Linked DNA regions of Homo sapiens: regions 2 and 3 are each linked to region 1. The links are contacts of gene promoters, found by promoter capture Hi-C in blood cells and fetal thymus (Javierre and others, 2016). All regions are on one chromosome and are shown on one strand. Each heading gives the region's core, a stretch centred on a gene start or on the middle of the fragment in contact. The rest is flanking DNA. Distances are from core to core; before and after follow the strand shown.

What was found. Contacts are between HindIII fragments. The CHiCAGO score rates a contact against its expected background, and 5 or more counts as called.
Region 2: a contact is called between a fragment that was not itself captured here and the fragment with the promoter of PKN2 in region 1, in 2 of 17 cell types (non-activated CD4 T cells and naive CD4 T cells). The highest score is 6.9, in non-activated CD4 T cells.
Region 3: a fragment that was not itself captured here is called in contact with the fragment with the promoter of PKN2 in region 1 in 1 of 17 cell types (fetal thymus); the score reaches 7.0 in fetal thymus.

Annotation. Positions count from the first base shown.
Region 1 is chr1:88,682,538-88,685,835 of GRCh38, forward strand. PKN2 (protein kinase N2) reads left to right here and starts at 1,736. Exons shown (of 22, transcript NM_006256.4): 1 at 1,736-2,091. The coding sequence starts at 2,044. It overlaps PKN2-AS1 (PKN2 antisense RNA 1), which reads right to left and starts at 2,667. Exons shown (of 4, transcript NR_110682.1): 1 at 2,627-2,667. RefSeq lists enhancers at 1,571-1,900, 1,931-2,010. The HindIII fragment of the contact is 6,383 bases long and covers 1-3,298 here.
Region 2 is chr1:91,018,817-91,022,114 of GRCh38, forward strand. It overlaps ZNF644 (zinc finger protein 644), which reads right to left and starts at 3,219. Exons shown (of 6, transcript NM_201269.3): 1 at 3,174-3,219. RefSeq lists enhancers at 2,476-3,025, 3,026-3,298 and silencers at 2,809-2,878, 3,209-3,298. The HindIII fragment of the contact is 702 bases long and covers 1,698-2,399 here.
Region 3 is chr1:86,399,740-86,403,037 of GRCh38, forward strand. No RefSeq gene overlaps it. Among named protein-coding and RNA genes, the nearest start is that of ODF2L, 5.1 kb to the left of the region's middle. The HindIII fragment of the contact is 812 bases long and covers 1,324-2,135 here.

The DNA.
Region 1 (3,298 bases), core at 486-2,985:
CAGTGTCTCACTCTTACTGCAACCTCTACCTCCTGGGTTCAAGCAATTCCCCTGCCTCAGCCTCCCGAGTAGCTGGGATTACAGGCGCACACCACCACGCCCAGCTAGTTTTTGTATTCTTAGTAGAGACAGTTTCACCAAGTTGGCCAGGCTGGTCTCGAACTCCCGACCTCAGATGATCGGCCAGCCTTGGCCTTCCAAAGTGCTGGGATTAAAGGCGTGAACCACTGCGCCTGGCCGGATAAGAACTCCTAATCCTTTCTGTAACTCCAAAGCCTAGGAAACCATCTGGCTTTTAGTTACCAGTAAAGGTAATCATATCCCGGCCTTTCCAAGTGTTCTTTCATGTATTTAATTATCATCTTCAACCAAGGCAATATACTAGACACATAAATAGTTGTAAGACTTGTGAAGTACACACCAGAAAAATTCTTTATCACACATATGATAAGTTAGAGTTCAGAAACTGTGGCCACAGAACTCCAGATCTTCAATACATGTTTGCTGAATTGATGTATGAGACTTGAGAAGGCAAAAGGATAGACGTTAAGTCCTGGCATCAGGCCAACAGAGTTACATGGAGCGTGTGAGAAGTACATAATGTTACACTTCCTAAGAAATATGTCAACGAATGCCCTTTCTAAGTAGCAACGTACCTAAATAACCCTTACCACTCTCTCCAGGTAGTTTTAACAAAGGTATTGTACCGCAGCTTCAAAAAATCAAAAGTTACGCGTTTACCTATCCATTCACTGCTCAGACAAAACAAAAACAAAAGCTACCTGTAGGAGACTTCGAAATTCCTTAATACCATAGTGTCATTAAAAACAAACACCTAGATTTACTTTACTTAGCTATATTTTACTAAGTAGTCAGGTTAGCTTTAATGCTTACCACGCCAAGGAAAGGTGGCTTTTTTCCTTTCCCGAGGGTAATCCCGTCCCACCTCCCCCTCCCTTAAATAAAGTTAAAACAACCCAAAAAAACCCAGCTAATTCTCAGCTCTGTACAGTTCTCCAGTACAAGCAACAGTAGTTCAACCTCAAGAAAAAGACATCTTAAAGGCCGTACATTAAAAGTTGCCAGGGATCCAGCCGCTTACATTTCATGAAAAGTACAGACCATACCCGTTTAGCTAGCTGTGCACCTTAACTGGTCGAGAAGGCGCGCTGGGGGCTGGGTTTGAGGGTGAGCAAAAGGCAAGATTATTAGTTTGGGTTGACGTGGGGGTCAAGGGGAGAGCAGAGGAATAATCTGTAAGATCTGAGTCCCGAAGCTCTTTGGGTTATGGAGGTTAGAAAAGGGCCTGTTAAAGTTAGGCCCAAGTTTCGGCAAGGTGGAACTGGGAAAAAAAAAAAAGAAAGAAAAAAAAAACGAAACCCGAAAAAACAACAGCGAGCAGGCTCCCGAGTTCTAGCGTTCACAGTGAAGCCGTTAAACGCAGCAGGAAAGTAGGCGTGTGTTTTCTTCCTCTTCCCGCCTCCCCAGAGACTCGAGCCCAGTCCTTTCCCCTCATTTTCACCCCAGCCGAGTCCAATGGCTGCCCTCGCCGCGGAGTCGGGTCGGAAGACGCCCCGCCCCCTCGCCGCGTTCGCCCTAGGGAACCCCTCCGCCCCACCTTCCCTGCCCGATGAGGGGCAGTGGCTGCCGCCGTCACGTGTGCTGGCAGCCGCCAAGTGAGGCCGCTTTTGCGACGCGGTGACAGCCAAATGGTGCGACAGGAGGAGCTGCAGCCGCGGCCGCAGCGCCCGCACGGAGAGGCTTGAGGCGGCTCCTGGCGTCGCCCAGAGGGAGCGACTAGACGAACAGTCCGGTGAGGGCGGCGAGAGGAAGCCCGCTACGAGTGCCCTAGCTCCCCGCCGCTCTCGATGAACCGGACGGAATAAGCCGCGCCTCCAGCAGGGGCTGCGCCTCCATGAATCCCTAGTTGTTTTTTTTTTTTTCTTTCTCTCCCCTCTCCTCACCCCCACCCCGAGCCCCGTCCCGCCTTCTCCCTTCGCCAGAGGCGGCCGCGTCCAGGTGCGGAGTCCATACCGGAGCGCAATGGCGTCCAACCCCGAACGGGGGGAGATTCTGCTCACGGAACTGCAGGTAAGGGCCGCGGCCCTGGTGAGAGGCGCTGGCGGAGGAGACAGGGAGAGAGCCCCGCGCGGCGTCGGGGACCGAGGAAAGCCCTGCGGCCGCCGCGCCCCTAGCCCGCTAAGTGCGGAAACTCCGGGATGTCACTCGGGAAATGCTTCCCTCGGGGAACCGCTTCCCTGGGGAGCCGGACCCTCTCCCCCGCCAAAGCCCTGGCCTGCCACCGCTTTGGTTTGATTCTGCCTACCAGAGGGGACCCCATCTCTGCAGCCCTGCTGCAGCGGGAGCCTGCTCTCGCCTGGTCCCCGGAGAGGCCGGCCCGTCGCCCCCTCCCTCGGTGTCAGAGCTACCCGCGAACGCCCCTGTTGCCCCCTCCCTTCGCGCGGCCGGGCCCCGCCCCGCCTTTCCTCCGTACACCGCTCCTTAAACTCCTTTGAATGACTCCCAAGCTGTTTTCTTGTCCCTCCCCCTCCCCTCAGACTCCGCACAAAGAGCGCCCCCATAACTTCCAGCCCCTAGACAAGTTTTTTTAAAAAACGAGTCTCACCAAATGTTTGCTTCACTTCAGCAGCCCTCTTCAGGTGACAGAGTTTCTTTCCTCTATTTTGAGGGTTATCTTTTTCTTTTCTTTTCCTTTCTTTTTTTTTTTTTAACCGAGTGATAAATACAGGGTGCCTTTCTCTGCTACCCCTGCCCAGATCCGGGAGCTCAGATGCTGATGCTTTTCAGACTTTCATTTTCCCTCTCATTTGAGCACCAGAGAAAGAGCTAATAAGTTGTTTACTAATGAGAAAGCAGTCGACTAAGGGAAAACATTGGGCACCACATGTCTGCAAAAGATGAGAGCAAAGTAGATCGCTTAGTTAAGTCATGTCGAGTAGCAATGTTATTTCCCATTTCCAGATAAATATTTGATAATGTAGGCACGATTTTCTTTAGATCTCTATGGTGTACATGGGGACTTAAGCTACCCTGTCGGGTTTTTCATTACTTGGGAGTGTTCCAGAGATGTTTGTTTTTTGACTTAAAAGTTATTTTGCTTTATTTTAATATAGTTATCTTTTAGCTACTCAAAGATTGTAGATGGGAATTAGGAGAAAAAAATAGCATGCCTGCATTTCTTTTTGTGTGTTGGACAGTTAATTTTTTTTAAAAAAAAGACTAAATCAAGAAATTCTGAAGAGTTGATGTCAAAATTAAGTATTGCAACTGCATCTAA
Region 2 (3,298 bases), core at 799-3,298, 2.3 Mb after region 1:
CTCCTCCTGCTACCCATTAACAGTCTCAATTCAACCAAAACACTCTTATAACTTGAATGACAAACTAAAACTGGAAAATGTTTAAGGTTGGCAGGTGACAGACCACTTTATAACTACAAATAACCTGAAAGTGACTCTAATTTTCACAAAATGAAAGTGTAAGTAAATCCACTCACATAATGTTGAAAATTATAAAACAGCTTATCAACTAACAAAAATCAGTAATTTAAAAGCACCTTATATGACCCATAAAAACTTTTAAAACCTTAAAACAATTTAACTTTTTGCTAAATCTGACATTCAAAGAAGTTAAAAATCACTATAGGGTTCCACCATAAATGACTGTCACTACTTGTTCAATTTCCTAACAGACCTTAGAGGTACCACTCAGTAGAAGTAGTAGTCTTAAAAAGTTGTTTTAAAGAAAGGGAACATTCTGAGTGGCACATTCGTTTATCCAACCAAAACACTATTACAAAATGAAAGACACCATTATTTTCAGCATTGATCTCATTTCTTTTCCTACATAATAACTGGCAATAACAGCAGTTATTTCAAACTTTCAAAGAAATTTATCAAGTCCCTGGTTGTTGTTTTTTAATTTTTCAATTTCTGGGTCAAGACTGCATTTGGAAAACCTTAAAATTCAAAAGCAACATTGCTCTGAAACTATCTGATATTTCTGTATTTTGTACCTGATTTTGTTTCACTGAAAGTCACTTTAAAAACCAAGTTAACCACAGAATATGAAAGTTTTTTTGTTTTTTTGTTTTGAGATGTAGTCTTGCTGTGTCACCAGACTGGAGTGCAGTGCCACGATCTCAGCTCTCTGCAACCTCTGCCTTCCGGGTTCAAGTGATTCTCCTGCCTCAGCCTCCCGAGTAGGTGGGACTATAGGCACCACCACGCCCAGGAAATTTTTACATTTTTAGTAGAGACGGGGTTTCACCATGTTAGCCAGGATGGTCTCGATCTCTTGACCTCGTGATCTGCTCGCCTCAGCCTCCCAAAGTGCTGGGATTACAGGCGTGAGCCACCGTGCCAGGCCAATATGAAAGTTTTTAACTTATTGTCACAGAAGTTCTCATGAACCTAACAATATTTAATTAACAAGTATTCTCAATAACATTCCCTTGTTTTTTTAACCATTAGTTGTAGATATTCACCTTCTCATCCCAGCAATATGACAAATACAAACAGCAATGGGTAGAGGCTGAAAGGCAATTTTCCATTATGCCACTAACTTAATCATCTCTGGTCCTCAATATATTGTAAAAGAGGAGGGTAAGAGCAGTTGTTCTTTGATATTGCTTCCACTGTAAAACTTTATGATCCAGGAATACATTTGCTAATGTTAATGCATCTCCTATTCATTAATACAAGACTGTTCTGTATTAGAAGCTAAAAAAAGAGAAAATATATATCTGAAAAGAACAAGGAAATGAAAGTTAACTAATGTTGAAAAATTCAAATTTCAGTTTGAACACAGAGATCTACACAGTGATCTAATGTGTTTAAATATCCCTCCAACCAAGGAATTCTGTTAATTGCCAACACAAAACATTAGGTGTTTCAAAATTTTGTACTTCATGAGTTAATACCAACACAAAGTATGATATAATTGCAGTATAACTTTAATTTGTTAGAAATTGTAAGACTTTTAAAAGCAATACATACCACTGCATTAATACTAATCAAGCTTTATGCTTCACCAATTAAAATGTCTAAGCTAGATTATAGCCTTATTATAAAAACGAGGTTTTTCTTAGCAAGCCTACCAAAATGCAATATTACTGCCATCAAGTTCCCTAGATACTTACACATGCAACTGAAGGCAAACAGCCAGGTTTCCTTTCTTTGAGAAACTTTAGTTGTCTATTTTTTGAAATGTTTTCCTTCTCATGGGACCAAAAAATGTTTACAACTAAAGCAAACTACTGCAGGGAGGGAATACACAATTAAAACAAATCTACCATCCAGATGCAACAAGCGTGGAATTAGGACTGGACAGGATAGTCGGCGGTGTTGTGATACTTCTGTTGAAATTATTAACAAGACAAGACCATCATTCGCCCCCAATTATGTTTATCCCCTCGTTGAGTTTGATGATCACACAAAATCTGAAGTCTAAATATAAACGTTTTTATATTCAAAGTCAATATTCAAGAAAACTTTTCCACTAATGTTGCTAAACCATAGATGGATCCCAACAAGAGTTGTCTGTAGAAGTCTCGTAACAAGTAACCTTTAGCTCCACCACCTAAGTTTCCAATCACTGAGAAGAGTCTGGGACAACTCATCTTCAGGTTCACGGGAGAAGTGGAGCACACCTGCTTTCCTCTGGCAGAGTAACTTCCCAGGGACACAAAGGCCAGAGAATCAGACCTGGAGAGGCAAAAAGCTTTAGCTGGACACCCACCAAGCCCCTGGCAACCCAAACACTTCGAGCGATTTACCTCTTGCTGTTACTTCCCAGGCACCTAGCCGCATAAGATCTTGCAGGACGGGGGGAGGGGAGGGCTATGCGGTCCTGTCCCAAGTAAGGGGAGGGGTGTAGACAGTTAATGCCAGAGCCAGCGTTTCTGGCCACAACCGAGCAGCCTCAACGAGAGGGGTTGGTGACTGCTCTCGGCCCGCCCCGTTACTCAGTGCATTGCAATGGCGACCGCCAGGCTCCCCAAGCCGCCTGATCTCGGCCCCTTCCCCCTACTGCTCACTGGCTGCTCGGCTTCATGTGACTAAACAAAACCCCCAAGTCTAGTGCCCAGCTCAGCCCCTTTGTGTCCGCTACCGGATCCTCCGACGCCGCAGCGGAAAGCCCCCCCCCCATCCCCCCGCCGAGTCCCGCCCCGCGGCGGCGGCCGCCGCTCACCTCAGGCTCCGTGGCCCCCAGCGACCGCCGCGGCCGCCGCCTCCCCGAACCCGGGGCCCGGGCTCCTTGTGTAGCACCAACTCCGCCTCCTCGGCCGCCGCCGCCATCTTAGCCTGTGCGGCAAAATGCGTCCTTTTGGATGGCTGGGACCCAGCCTAGGGCGTAGCTCCCCGGGCCCGAGAGCCGGAGGCCGGGTCCCCCAAGTTCTTCCGCCACCCTCAGTCCCGCCGCTGCCACAGCCCAGAGGCCCGAAACCCACTCGGGTCCCAGCGAATCTGACCAAATAACCCCTGAAACTCACAGTTTGGTGCCGTGTGCGTCAAACCGGGGCGACGTTGGGAGCACGCGGCGTCCCCGCGTCACACGCCGCTCTGTACGCTACTCGGCTCCAGCGGCCCCCCTCCGCTCCCCGCTTTTCGCCTCCAG
Region 3 (3,298 bases), core at 480-2,979, 2.3 Mb before region 1:
ATTCCTCAGATTAAGTTACTTCAGAATTTTCAAGGAGTACAAGACCAGCCCTATAGATAGGAAGGGAGGAGTTCTTCAGAAAGCAAAAAGCTCTGTAGTGTCTGCGTATTAAGATAATAGAGCTATCCGAATTCACCCAACCTCTCTATCACAACTCTAAAGATCCAACTCCTTCCCAATCAATGCCTTAATTTCTTACATAAGAGACCTGAGGAGTCTGTTTATTCAACTTACCTTGTAATTTAGCTCTTCACAGCATTAATACTTGATTTGGATGTGTCATCCCAGCAATTAATAAAGTTTTAAGGTAATCATAGAAGTTCTCTGGGCCTCTGAGCTTATCACATTTTTCTTTAAGCATCCTAGTACAGTCATAAATAGAAAAATCACCCCACAATCTTTGTATTCTTCATTCCTGCCATTCCCAACAAAGGTATGCCTTCAGTGACTACTTAATTCCTGAGGATTATAGGCCACTTTTAAATGGTTGTATAATTTATATTCAATAAAGTACATATGTATTAAATGTTCAGAGTATGACTTTTGCCAATTATATAATTATATGCACTCATGAAAATAATACCTAAAACAAAATTTAGAACATTTATGTCAGTCCAAAGTGTTTATTTGTATCTGTCTGTAGCTTGTCAGTTCACCAAAACTACCCTCATGCCTCTCCATCCTCCCCTAGCCCACACACAGAGAGACTACTACTTTCTAATTTATATGACTAGAGGTTAATATTGCCTATTCTTGGTGTTCATATAAATGGAATCACACAATATATATTCCTTTTTGTCTGACTTCTTTCATTCAAATAGGCATGTGTGTGTGTATATATGTATATATGTGTATATACATATATATACACACCCACATATTTGAATGAATATATATATATATATATAGCGAGAGAGAGAGATTGAGATTCATCCATGTTGTTGCATATTTTAGTAGTTTGTTCTTTTTTTTTGAGATTGAGATTCATCCATGTTGTTGCATAGTTTAGTAGTTTTTTTTTTTTTTTTTTTTTTTGGCTGAGTAGTTGATATAGTTTGCATGTTTGTCCTCTCCAAATCTCATGTTGAAATGTAATCCCCAGTGTTGGAGGTGGGGTCTGATGTTGGAAGTGTCAGATCATGGGGGCATATCCCTCATGAATGGTTTAGTACCATCCCCTTGATGATAAGTGAGTTTTGGTCTGAATTCATGTGAGACCTGTTGTTTAAAAGTGTGTTGCACCTCTCCAATCCCAACTCTTGCTGCTGCTCTCATCATGTGATGTGGTTGCTCCCCTTAACCTTCTTGTAAGCCATAATTATAAGCTTCTTGAAGCCCTCACAGAACCCCAGCAGATGTTGGTGCAATGCTTGTACAGCCTATAGAACTATGAGCCAATTAAACCTCTTTTCTTTATAAATTACCCAGCCTCAGGTATTTCTTTATAGCAACGTAAGAACAGCCTACTATATAGTAGTATTTCATTGTGTAAATATACCACAATTTGCTTATTAGTGCTCCTGTTGATAGATATTTAGGTTGTTGGCAGCTTCTAGTTATTAATGAATAAGGCTGCTATAAGCATTCTTTAAAACGCATTTTATTAACATATGCTTTCATTTTTCTTAGCTAGGAGTGGAATTACTGGTTATAGGGTATAAGTATGTTTAACTTTACCAGCAGTGTATGATGCTTCCTGTTGCTTCACATCCTTGCCAACATTTAGTACAGCAGTATTTTTTATTTTAACTGTTCTAGGGGGTGTGAGGTGGCAGCTCATTATGGATTTCAATTTGTGGTTTTTTTTGGTAATGAATGATGTTTAGCACCTTTCAGTTATTGACCGTACATCATTTATGAAGTGTTGTTCAAGTCTTTTACCCATTTTTTTGGATTGTTGTTTTATTGTTGATTTTCAGGAGTTGTTTACATATTCTGAAAAACGATTTGTCAGATATATGTAACTAATACTTTCCTCCTATTTCTCATATATTTTCTTAATGGTATCTTTTGAAGAGCAGAAAATTTTTATTTGAAACATCTAACTTACCAGCATTTTTCTTTTATAGTTTAATGTACCGCAACTCCACATTTGTGAAGTCGCTATGTTTTCTTCTAGAAGTTTTATTATTTGAAGCTTTTATAAGTAAGTATATGACCTATCTTGAATTAAGTTTTTTAGGAATGATGTAAGGGGTCAAGATTCACTTTGTTTTATACAGATACCCAATTTGGTACCACCATTTATTTAAAAGACTTTCTCTTCCCCATTGAATCAATTTAGTGCTTTTGTTGAAAATGATTAGACCATGTGTGTGTGTGTTTATTTCTGGACAATCCATTCTATTCTAATAATTTATAATCAAAACATTTGCCTACATGACATTCTCTTGATTACTGTAGTTTTATATAAGTCTTAAAATTGGCTAGACTCCATTTACTACAAAGACGGTTGTCCACAGGGCAAGTCAGACAAGAATTGAGCAAAGTCTTGGGGCAACAGAACAACTTTGCTTTACAAGATAGAGTATCAGCGCATGTCTTAGTTTGGAGTGCTGTAACAAAAATATAGACTGGGTGGCTTAAACAACAGAAATTTGAGAAGACCAAGATCAAGGTGCCAGCCAATTTGGTTCCTGGTGAGGGCCCTCTTCTTGATTTGCAGAAGGATGCCTTCTTGTCGTACTCCCACATGGTAGAGAGAGGAGGGAAGCAAGCTCTTTCATGTCTCTCCCTTTTATAAATAATATCTTTGCTTTGTATAGAATTATAAATTACAAACTATTATTTTGCTTAATCCTTTTAACCAACATGTGAGTCGGACAGGCTGGAGGATATTAGCTCCCATTTTACAGGCAGAGTGAAAACAAGCTGGGATAGAAGACCTGGGATTCCATACTCACAACTGCTTTTTTCCATGACTTTGTGATACATCATTTAAAAGTAATCTGATTTCACAGTGTTTTACAGTGTAAGAGTAACATCTATAGTATCTATTCCTGGCAGGCTAACTGTGGAGCCAACCAACCTAATTGATGGCCTCATAAGCTGGCATATTTTAAGGCATTCTTATACCTCTAACTCAATTTCCAGCTATATTTGAGGGCCCCATAAACCAAAATGTAGAAAGCTGTTCTGAAAGGATCAGGAAATACAATGGTTAAGCATGTTTTAAAGTTTAACCTAGGCCTGGCACATCCTTGTCAATTGCTCAGATGGCAAGCTGAGGCAATTAATTGAAGGGAGTAATGCGAGGGTCCACTTGGGGGTGGTCACTGATGAAAAACACAAGCAGAAT